2 separate regions of the Homo sapiens genome follow, and region 2 is linked to region 1. Evidence: promoter capture Hi-C in 16 types of primary human blood cells and fetal thymus (Javierre and others, 2016). All regions are on one chromosome and are shown on one strand. Each heading gives the region's core, a stretch centred on a gene start or on the middle of the fragment in contact. The rest is flanking DNA. Distances are from core to core; before and after follow the strand shown. Region 1 holds the start of CLPX (caseinolytic mitochondrial matrix peptidase chaperone subunit X). Region 2 overlaps CSNK1G1 (casein kinase 1 gamma 1).

The links. The method cuts DNA at HindIII sites, captures the fragments that hold promoters and counts their contacts. A CHiCAGO score of 5 or more calls a contact.
Region 2: a contact is called between a fragment that was not itself captured here and the fragment with the promoter of CLPX in region 1, in 1 of 17 cell types (fetal thymus). The highest score is 9.3, in fetal thymus.

What each region holds. Positions count from the first base shown.
Region 1 is chr15:65,183,422-65,187,631 of GRCh38, forward strand. CLPX (caseinolytic mitochondrial matrix peptidase chaperone subunit X) reads right to left here and starts at 1,921. Exons shown (of 14, transcript NM_006660.5): 1 at 1,654-1,921. The coding sequence starts at 1,732. RefSeq lists an enhancer at 1,554-2,438 and a silencer at 1,860-2,169. The HindIII fragment of the contact is 3,137 bases long and covers 1-2,552 here.
Region 2 is chr15:64,164,682-64,168,891 of GRCh38, forward strand. It overlaps CSNK1G1 (casein kinase 1 gamma 1), which reads right to left. Exons shown (of 12, transcript NM_022048.5): 12 at 844-4,210. Among named protein-coding and RNA genes, the nearest start is that of PPIB, 3.8 kb to the left of the region's middle. The HindIII fragment of the contact is 7,083 bases long and covers 1-4,210 here.

The sequences.
Region 1 (4,210 bases), core at 671-3,170:
CTGCACTCCAGCCTGAGCGACAGAGCGAGACTCTGTCTCAAAAAAAAAAAAAAAAAAAAAAGAAAGAAAATAAGACAGACAGAAAGACAGATAGTAGATGGAAAGAAAGACAGAAAGGAAAGAAAGACAGGAAGGAAGGAAAGGAAGGAAGGAAGGAAGGAGAAAAGAAAAGAAAAAGAAAGAAAACAGTCGTTTTGAAAAGAAAAAAAAATAACTGCCTATCTCCTATGATTCAAAAATGTTCACGGACTCTTGGCTACAAGAGATCAGTAACACTTTCAAAGAAGCCGTCCCTGACCAAAGGGAACACACACATACTTCATCCACCCACTGGAAACTGTATTATTCTTTGTCTACTCCACTAGATTTAAACATGAGGGTGAGGACTTATTCACCACTCTACCTCCAGCACTAAAAGAAGGCCTGACACACAGTGGACCCTTGACAAATATTAATATATATCAGATAAATGGATTAAAATATGTCACTTTAAAGTGTTTGCAAATCGAATTCCTGGAATCGGGACATCTACTGGTTGAGGCTTAACATCGATTTAGGATTAAATTTACTCCCTTACATTTATATATCATTTTACAAAATGCTTCTGCCCACGTTACCTCATTCAATCCTTCCTTCTGTAGTAAAGAAACTGGAAGATATATTTAGTAAACAATAAGGATTTTATAATTGGCTTAGAAGTTAGATAAAAGGGGCCTTTTTAAAAATCCATCCAAGGGTCATAAACCGATAAGCCAAAATAAAACGAATTTGTCTAGAAGTCAGTCATTATAACAGGATCTAGCCTCGTGGTCTGACTTCCACAGATTTGAGGAAGAGAAAAAAAGTTTATTTTCCAGACTCTCTTGGCTGGGGCGCCATTCTTTCACAGCTTCAGATAAACAGAAAGAAAAGGTAAACAACATGCGCCACTCTTAGGAAACTACCTCCCGGTCAAGTTGGGAAAGCCAGCAAAGGACTGCTGAAACACCCAAGTACTTCCGAACCAACTCCTGCGGGACTTCTCCCCATCTCTCCCGCCGCTGTCCTGCGGGCCCCGGGGCTTGCCTGACGCCGGGAAGTATTGTGAACCTTGTTTATGTCCCAGTGTCAGGGCCGCACAGTGATAGTAACATCTCGGGTATCGCGCGGCTTGCGTCCGGGACGGCCAGCTGGGTGCCCCGAGTCCTGGGGGACCCTAGTAGGGACAGATCCTCAGCCGAGCCCCTCCTGGAGCCCCCAACGGGCCCGAGGGGGATCCCGGCCAGGCTGCGGAAGAAGAGCCGCAGCCATGGCAGGCGGCGGTCCCCGGCAGGGCTGAGTGGGATCTGGAGACATTTTTTAATAACAGGAGCATTTTGTGCCTTTCAGGGTTTCTACAAAGTGGCCGCATTCCGGCCCCAAAGTCAGCAGGCCTGAAAGCGTGCAGGCAGGCGCGTGGGAAGGAGTTTACTTCCAATTTGAGCAACGGCTGCTCCAGAGGTTGGCAGAGCCCCATTCCACGGGGAAAGTGGTGGGTGCCGGGCGAAGCGCCGCGCATTCCCTCACACTCCCCGGGTGCAGCAGGCCTCGTGCCCTCCCCGGGGCCCCCAACCATTGGCCAGTCCACCCCCCCCCCGACAGGCTGAGGGCTCAGGAGTGGCACTATTTCGTTACCTCTCTGCGCGGAGGCGAGTGAGGAGGTGATGAGCCGGACGGCCGCCGCGCCGCAAGTACAAGCACCGCAGCTGGGCATCTCCGCGAGGCCTAGGCCGGGGCTTCGCCCCCTGAGGACCTCCGGGTCACAGCGGCGTGAATCCTGCCCGCAAGGCGCGCTGACTCGGTTCCGAACCCTTTCGCGGGCCCTAGACCCCGTGGAGAGTTCACCTGCCCGGCAGCCAGGCCTTCACGCTTCTCTGCCCCACAGCCGTCTATTCACCAGAGTAGACACCCAACCCCCCCCTCCCTTCCCCTCCTTCTCCTTCTACCCCCACCCCCAGCCTACTGGGCCCGGGGAGCTTGCGCGCGCCTGCGCCCTAGGCCCGGGGAGGGGGCGGAGGGCGTGGGCACGCGCCGTGTTTGCGAGCTGGTGAAGCTACGTGAGGCGAAGGCGAGGGGGTGGTGCCCTGGGCGCCAATGAGTTCCCTACGGCAAGCGTCTAGCCCCAACTGGGGCGACTACAGGTCCCGACGCTCAAGGTTGCCAAAAGCCCTTTTATCCTAAAGTTGAAAGGTTTTGCGATAGACGCGGAGAGATGCATGCCGGGACTTGTAGTCCCGAGTCGTCATAGTCGAGCTCTTCCGGTCACTTTTAGTGGGCGGCAGGGAAGGTCAAGGTGAGGCTGGTGGCTTAACCCTCCAGGGGGAAGTCTCTAAAGTGCCTTGGTAGGCGCTGGATGCTTCAGATTCACTAAATTTCTTCCCCCGGAATTCCACATCCTGTGTTCCTTATCTTCTCATTCTCCTTAGTTTCATCACTTGTAACATGGAGTTGGTATTGTCAGTTAGTTCCCTGAGCAGCAATTGTTAGTTGGTAACAGCTCCGTCTCCTTGTTCTTTCAGGCCTCGTGGTGATAAAGCTTCTAGCTGTTGCTAGTCCGTGGGTGCTTTAAAGTCTTGAGGGTTTTCTTTTCTTTCTTTCTTTTTTTTAATTTAGTAAAGATGAGGTCTCCCTATGTTGCCCAGGCTGGTCTCAAACTCCTGGGCTCAAGTGATCCTCTCGCCTCGCCCTCCCAAAGTGCTGGGATTACAGGCGTGAGCCACCGCACCCGGCCGTGATTAAGGATGGCACTGCATAGATAACCTCTGGTCAGGTTCCTATCAGGCCATCCTCTCAAGTTATGAATTCAAAAGCACAGAGCCGGCTGGGCGTGGTGGCTCACACCTGTAATCCCAGCACTTTGGGAGGCCGAGGCAGGTGGATCACGAGGTCAGGAGTTTGCGACCAGCCTGACCCACATGGTGAAACCCCATCTCTACTAAAAATACAAAAATTAGGTAGGTGTGGTGGCGTACTCCTGTAATCCCAGCTACTCAGGAGGCTGAGGTGGGAGAATTGCTTGAACCCAGGAGGCGAAGGTTGCAGTGAGCCGATATCGTGCCATTGCACTCCAGCCTGGGCGACAGAGCGAGACTCCGTCTCAAAAAAAAAAAAAAAAAACCCAGAGCCATCTGAGATTATCCCTGTGAGAAAATGGATCCTTCACCAGGAAAGTGATGGCAAATACTTGTGGTCACATCAGCCCTTCCACATCACACCTACTTTCAGCTGTTTTCTGACAGATTAATGACGCTTTAAAAAGAAAGTCAAGTGCAGTTTTCCAGCTCAAATAGTTTACACTGGAGGAGTTAACTCCTTGAGTTATTTACTTTTTGCGAACTACATAGCTGAAGGCACATAACTTTTTTTTTGAGACAGAGTCTCCATCTGTCACCCAGGCTGAAGTGCAGTGGCACCATCTCAGCTCACTGCAACCTCTGCCTCCTGGGTTCAAGTGATTCTCCTGCCTCAGCCTCCTGAGTAGCTGGGATTACAGGCATGCGTCACCATGCCCGGTTAATTTTTGTATTTTTAGTAGAGGCAGAGTTTCACTATGTTGGCCGTGTTAGTTTCAAACCCCTGACCTCAAGTGATCCGCCTGCCTCAGCCTCCCAAAGTGCTGGGATTACAGGCATGAGCCATTGCACCCAGTCAGGCACATAACTTTTTATGTCTTCATTTTATGTAAAACTTTTTCTTTTGTCTTTTTTTTTTTTTTTTTTTTGAGATGGAGTCTCACTCTGTGGCCAGGCTGGAGCGCAGTGGTGCGATCCTGGCTCACTGTAACCTCTGGCTCCTCGGTTCAAGCGATTCTCCTACCTCAGCCTCCTGAGTAGCTGGGACTACAGGCGCACACCACCACGCCCAGCTAGTTTTTGTATTTTTAGTAGAGACGGGGTTTCACCATGTTGGCCAGGATGGTTTTGATCTATTGACCTCATGATCCGCCTGCCTTGGCCTCCCAAAGTGTTGGGATTACAGGTGTGAGCCACCATGCAGGCCCTCTTTTTCTTTTATACTTGATTTTACCTCCCAGCATTATGAGTTGCTATAAGAAATATTTTAATAAATTAGAGTCCATGAGTCTTAACTCACTCAATATTAACCCTGATTTTTTTAGATGAGGAAACAGGCCTATTGAAAAGGCAGATACTTGACCAGGGTCACATAACAAGTGAAAAACAGAGAATAGAGC
Region 2 (4,210 bases), core at 1,032-3,531, 1.0 Mb before region 1:
AGGTCAAGGCTGCAGTGTACTGTGATCGTGAAACTGCACTCCACCCTGTCTCAAAAACAAAGAAACACTCAAAAAACCCAAGTAGCCTCCTGCACATGAGGAGCTAAGGCTAAAATGGCATCACAGCAGCCTTTCTCCCACTCCCACTTTCAAAAGAAATCAGGTTGATGGATAAAATGCTCTCAATGTGAAACTTTTCTCTCATGATTCTTCCACTGCTACCTGCCTGTGAAAAAGTAATTAAAGAGTAGTAACAAACTGGAAGGAGTCAATCATGCCCAGATTGACAGTTGTTCTGTTGGCTACATATGCAGTATGGTTTTACATTGCTCATCATAGTTCTATCTTCTGTCTGGACACATATTCCGCATTTGTAGAGGAGAATTATAAAGCTACTAAAGTTGTTCCACAGAGCAGATCCTGATTTCCTGTGTTCTACCACCTGAGAACAACAGGGACCCAGGAACTAACGTATGAGTGATAATGTCCAAATTCTTCCAGGAATATTTATTTATTTGAGACGGAGTCTTGCTCTGACGTCCATGCTGGAGTACAGTGGTGCGATCTTGGCTCATTGCAAACTCCACCTCCTGGATTCAAGCAATTGGCCTGCCTCAGCCTCCTGAGTAGCTGGGATTACAGGTGTGCACCACCACGCCCAACTAATTTTGTATTTTTAGTAGTGACAGGGTTTCACCATGTTGGCCAGGCTGGCCTCGAACTCCTGACCTCAAATGATCCACCCGCCTTGGCCTCCCGGAGTTGCTGGGATTACAGGTGAGAGCCACTGCGCCTGGCCAATATTTATTTTTTTAATTAAAAAATAATTTTCTTCTTCAGCACTCGAAGAGAGACAGCAGTATTTATTTTTGAAGTGACTCACAGGAGAAGACAATATTTAATCCAAGGAATGAAACAAGAATGCCAAATTATTTTTGTTCACAGGAGTCTTGAATCGCATCAAAGTTAGTCCTAGCTAGATTGTTAATTACAAATGAGCCGAGGGAGATTAAAAACAGACAAACCAATCAACCAACCAAACAAGCAGAAGTAGCCAAGAAAGGTAAGACATTTTATTTTACATACAAAAAGGGTGCAAACTGAGTCCTTTCCTCCCCAAACTGGGGAAGAGGTATACTTAAAGATCACATTTGTGTTTTCCATGGTGCCCTAGGAAATGGGCTACTCTGAGATCACATATCAGAACCCATTTTCCATTTTCTCCAAAGAAGGCTACTTCCTCTGCAGAGAAGATTTTCCTAATGGTGCACAAATATCTCTCCTGGAGGAACCATTTCAAATACACTTGAAATTGACATTCATGTTTAAAAATACTACAAATTTCATTTTCACAGCTGAGCTTTGTGACCAGTGCCAGGGTTTATGAAACATTATACATCTAAAAAAAAAAAAAGTAAAAAAAGAGGCATTTAACAATAATCAGACACATCCACACATTAAAACTGATTTCCACTGCTGATTTATACATTATCTAGTTGTTTAAAAATCGCAATCAACATCCCAACATCTTTTTAAGAGTACAATGGGCAAAGATCAAAGACAGATAAATAATAATATAATAAATTAGAGCATGTAATACATCCTATGGGAATTGCTGAATCAACATTATTTTCCATTGGGGGGTATATATTTTTGGTTTATCTTTATCTTTTCTGCTGTTATTTTTTTTCTCTGCTTGATAAAATGGGGCTCATTCCTAAAGCCAGCTTGCTGAGACACTAATTTCAGAAGCTCACTTGTCACTTGTTTAACCTCTGAGAATACTCAGGAACACATGGTTCCCAGCAGCTTGGGCTGGGTCTTTATGGAAGTGAAATGCACATAGATGAACACACGCACTCACGTGCGCACACACACCACACACACACACAGACACGCAGTCACACACTTCCATCTGTAAATATATTTCTCCCCAAAGAAATGGCTCATCTTTCCTGAGACATTCCTAATAGACTGATAAGCCTTCTAAAAAAGGCTTTTGGTGCAAGGGCTGGCCTGGGATTTGGTCTGGAGCTCATGAACTGAAAATGTCTCACCTGTACTGAAAGAGGGGTGGGTGGGGACATTCAGAACAGCTGTCCTCTTGTGGGTGTTACTGGAATGGCTGCACCACACCCCCACTTATTACCATGAATAATCCTCTGCTCTGAGACCTTATAGATGGTGATGGCACTGGGAAAGTGATTGTGAGGAGTAAAAGAAGAAAAATAAAAGAAATTCTGTCTACAGAACGGAGGTTTCTTTGTAACATCAGGTTTGGTAATCAAACTAGAAATACAAGGAATACGTGTTCACTTTTTCCCTTGAAAGGTGATTTACAAATACCGGAAGTGGGTTTTCTGGTTGTGTTTTGAGAAAATATGTCAACTACCACTGTGTATTATCCAGGGAACCTACTCACTATTTTGAATACAATGAGAAAACTATTTTTTTGTACTTAGTCACCTGCAAAAGGAGTTAGGAAAAACATTTTTAAGACTGCTTGCTGGACAAAAGACTTTCAAGATTCCTTACTTGTGGCTAAAACATTGCTCAAAAAGGATAAACCCACATAAGGGCCATGGTTGCCTCTTCTTTTTCTTATTCAGAAACAAAATCACCCCCCATACACCAAAAAACAAACTGAAAACCAAAAACAACAACAAAAAAACAAAACCCAAAGCCAAAGGAATCCCAATTTGATTCCTATCAACCCCTCATGGGAAAGACTAGGAGTCTCTGCCATCGACCTCTAGACAGGACTTCCCTGGAGTCTGCAAAAGCAAGAACCCGAGAGATAAGTGCCTGTCACTTACGTGGCCAATTCAGATGGGTTGCCTAATTATCCTGGCTCCCTGAGGGTTTCTGGAATTCATCTGCCCACCATAGGGCAATGGTGGGGATGGTGGCAGTGGCGTGGCAAAGGCAATGTTGGCTGTATGGTGTTGCAGGCTCCCAATCTGAGAAACGAACCTTAATATGGTTCTGACACTGGAGACAATGTTGTTAGGGCAACTCAATGGGAATGGAGAGCTGGTTTAAATGTGAAATGGAAGAGGTGGCTGGAACACAGGAGGCATGTGGGCTTGGGAGATGCATCAAACGAAAGTTCCTCTGAGAAGACGTTTTCTTGGCTGCCATGGAAGTTCTCATTTTTGAGAAATGCAAGCCATGCTTGCTCACTGGGAGGAGGAATGGATTTTATCTTTTACATAAAAAAGTTAAGGCTATAATCTTTAGTAACCACTTTGACGTTACATTATCATTGTTACATATTTCTGGCATTAAAAGTGGTTACTAGCACTGAAAATCAACACTGAATATGCACTACCAGCATATCTTCCCACTGAACTAAGTTTGGAAATTACTTTAGGGGTGATGGTCACCTTTTCTGGCTGATGGACAGGGACTGTTTTCTAAGTACTTGGAGTTCATTTAGAAAAAAGAGACAATCAACATGTCTAGAAACCTCAGGATCTCTGCTGTCATCTGTAGCTCATGCATTCCAATATAAAATGGGATTTTAACTGGAAGCTAATCTTGTACCTTCCTAGACCCTGTTTATTGCTGGACAGGCTCCATAATAGCAGAAGAATGTTAATTAAGGCAGTCATGAGTGCACACTGGCTGTCAGGATACTCTATCCACCCTTGGGGGCAGTCTGGAGTGAGATCTCTGGAAAGCACCAAGGTGCGTAGAGCAACTTGACCAACTCTTACTGCAGAGACACAAGTGATACCCTGGTCAAAAGGGAGTAGGGGGGACCATTTATGCCTTGGTGGAGTCTTGGCCTGTGTGCCTCAAATCTGTTTAGGATGCAATGTCTGAGGGACTGTAGAGCTTGGGAAAACTCCTAATGTATACTATTAAGGGTTTTTATGAATAGATGCTGAGTTAGCTTTCAGGAAAAACAACTGCATCAATCCTAAAGAAAAAGATCGTTAGGCACCATACTTGTGAAATGGAGAAAGCTCAGAAACTACAGAGCAAGTGGATGGGTGGGGACAGTCAGCGAGTGCATGCCCTAACCCCAAGGATCTGGCTGAGGCATACAGCTAAGGAACTGTAGCAGTAGGGTTGAGGAGGGAGCCCTGATTCGCTGATGGGCCTGAAACAAATGGCCAATTGCATCTAGGGTACTCAGGTTTTTTGCTTATTTTTAAGGAAGATCCCACCAGAATCTCCCAGGTCTGGGACCACTTTGAAGTGC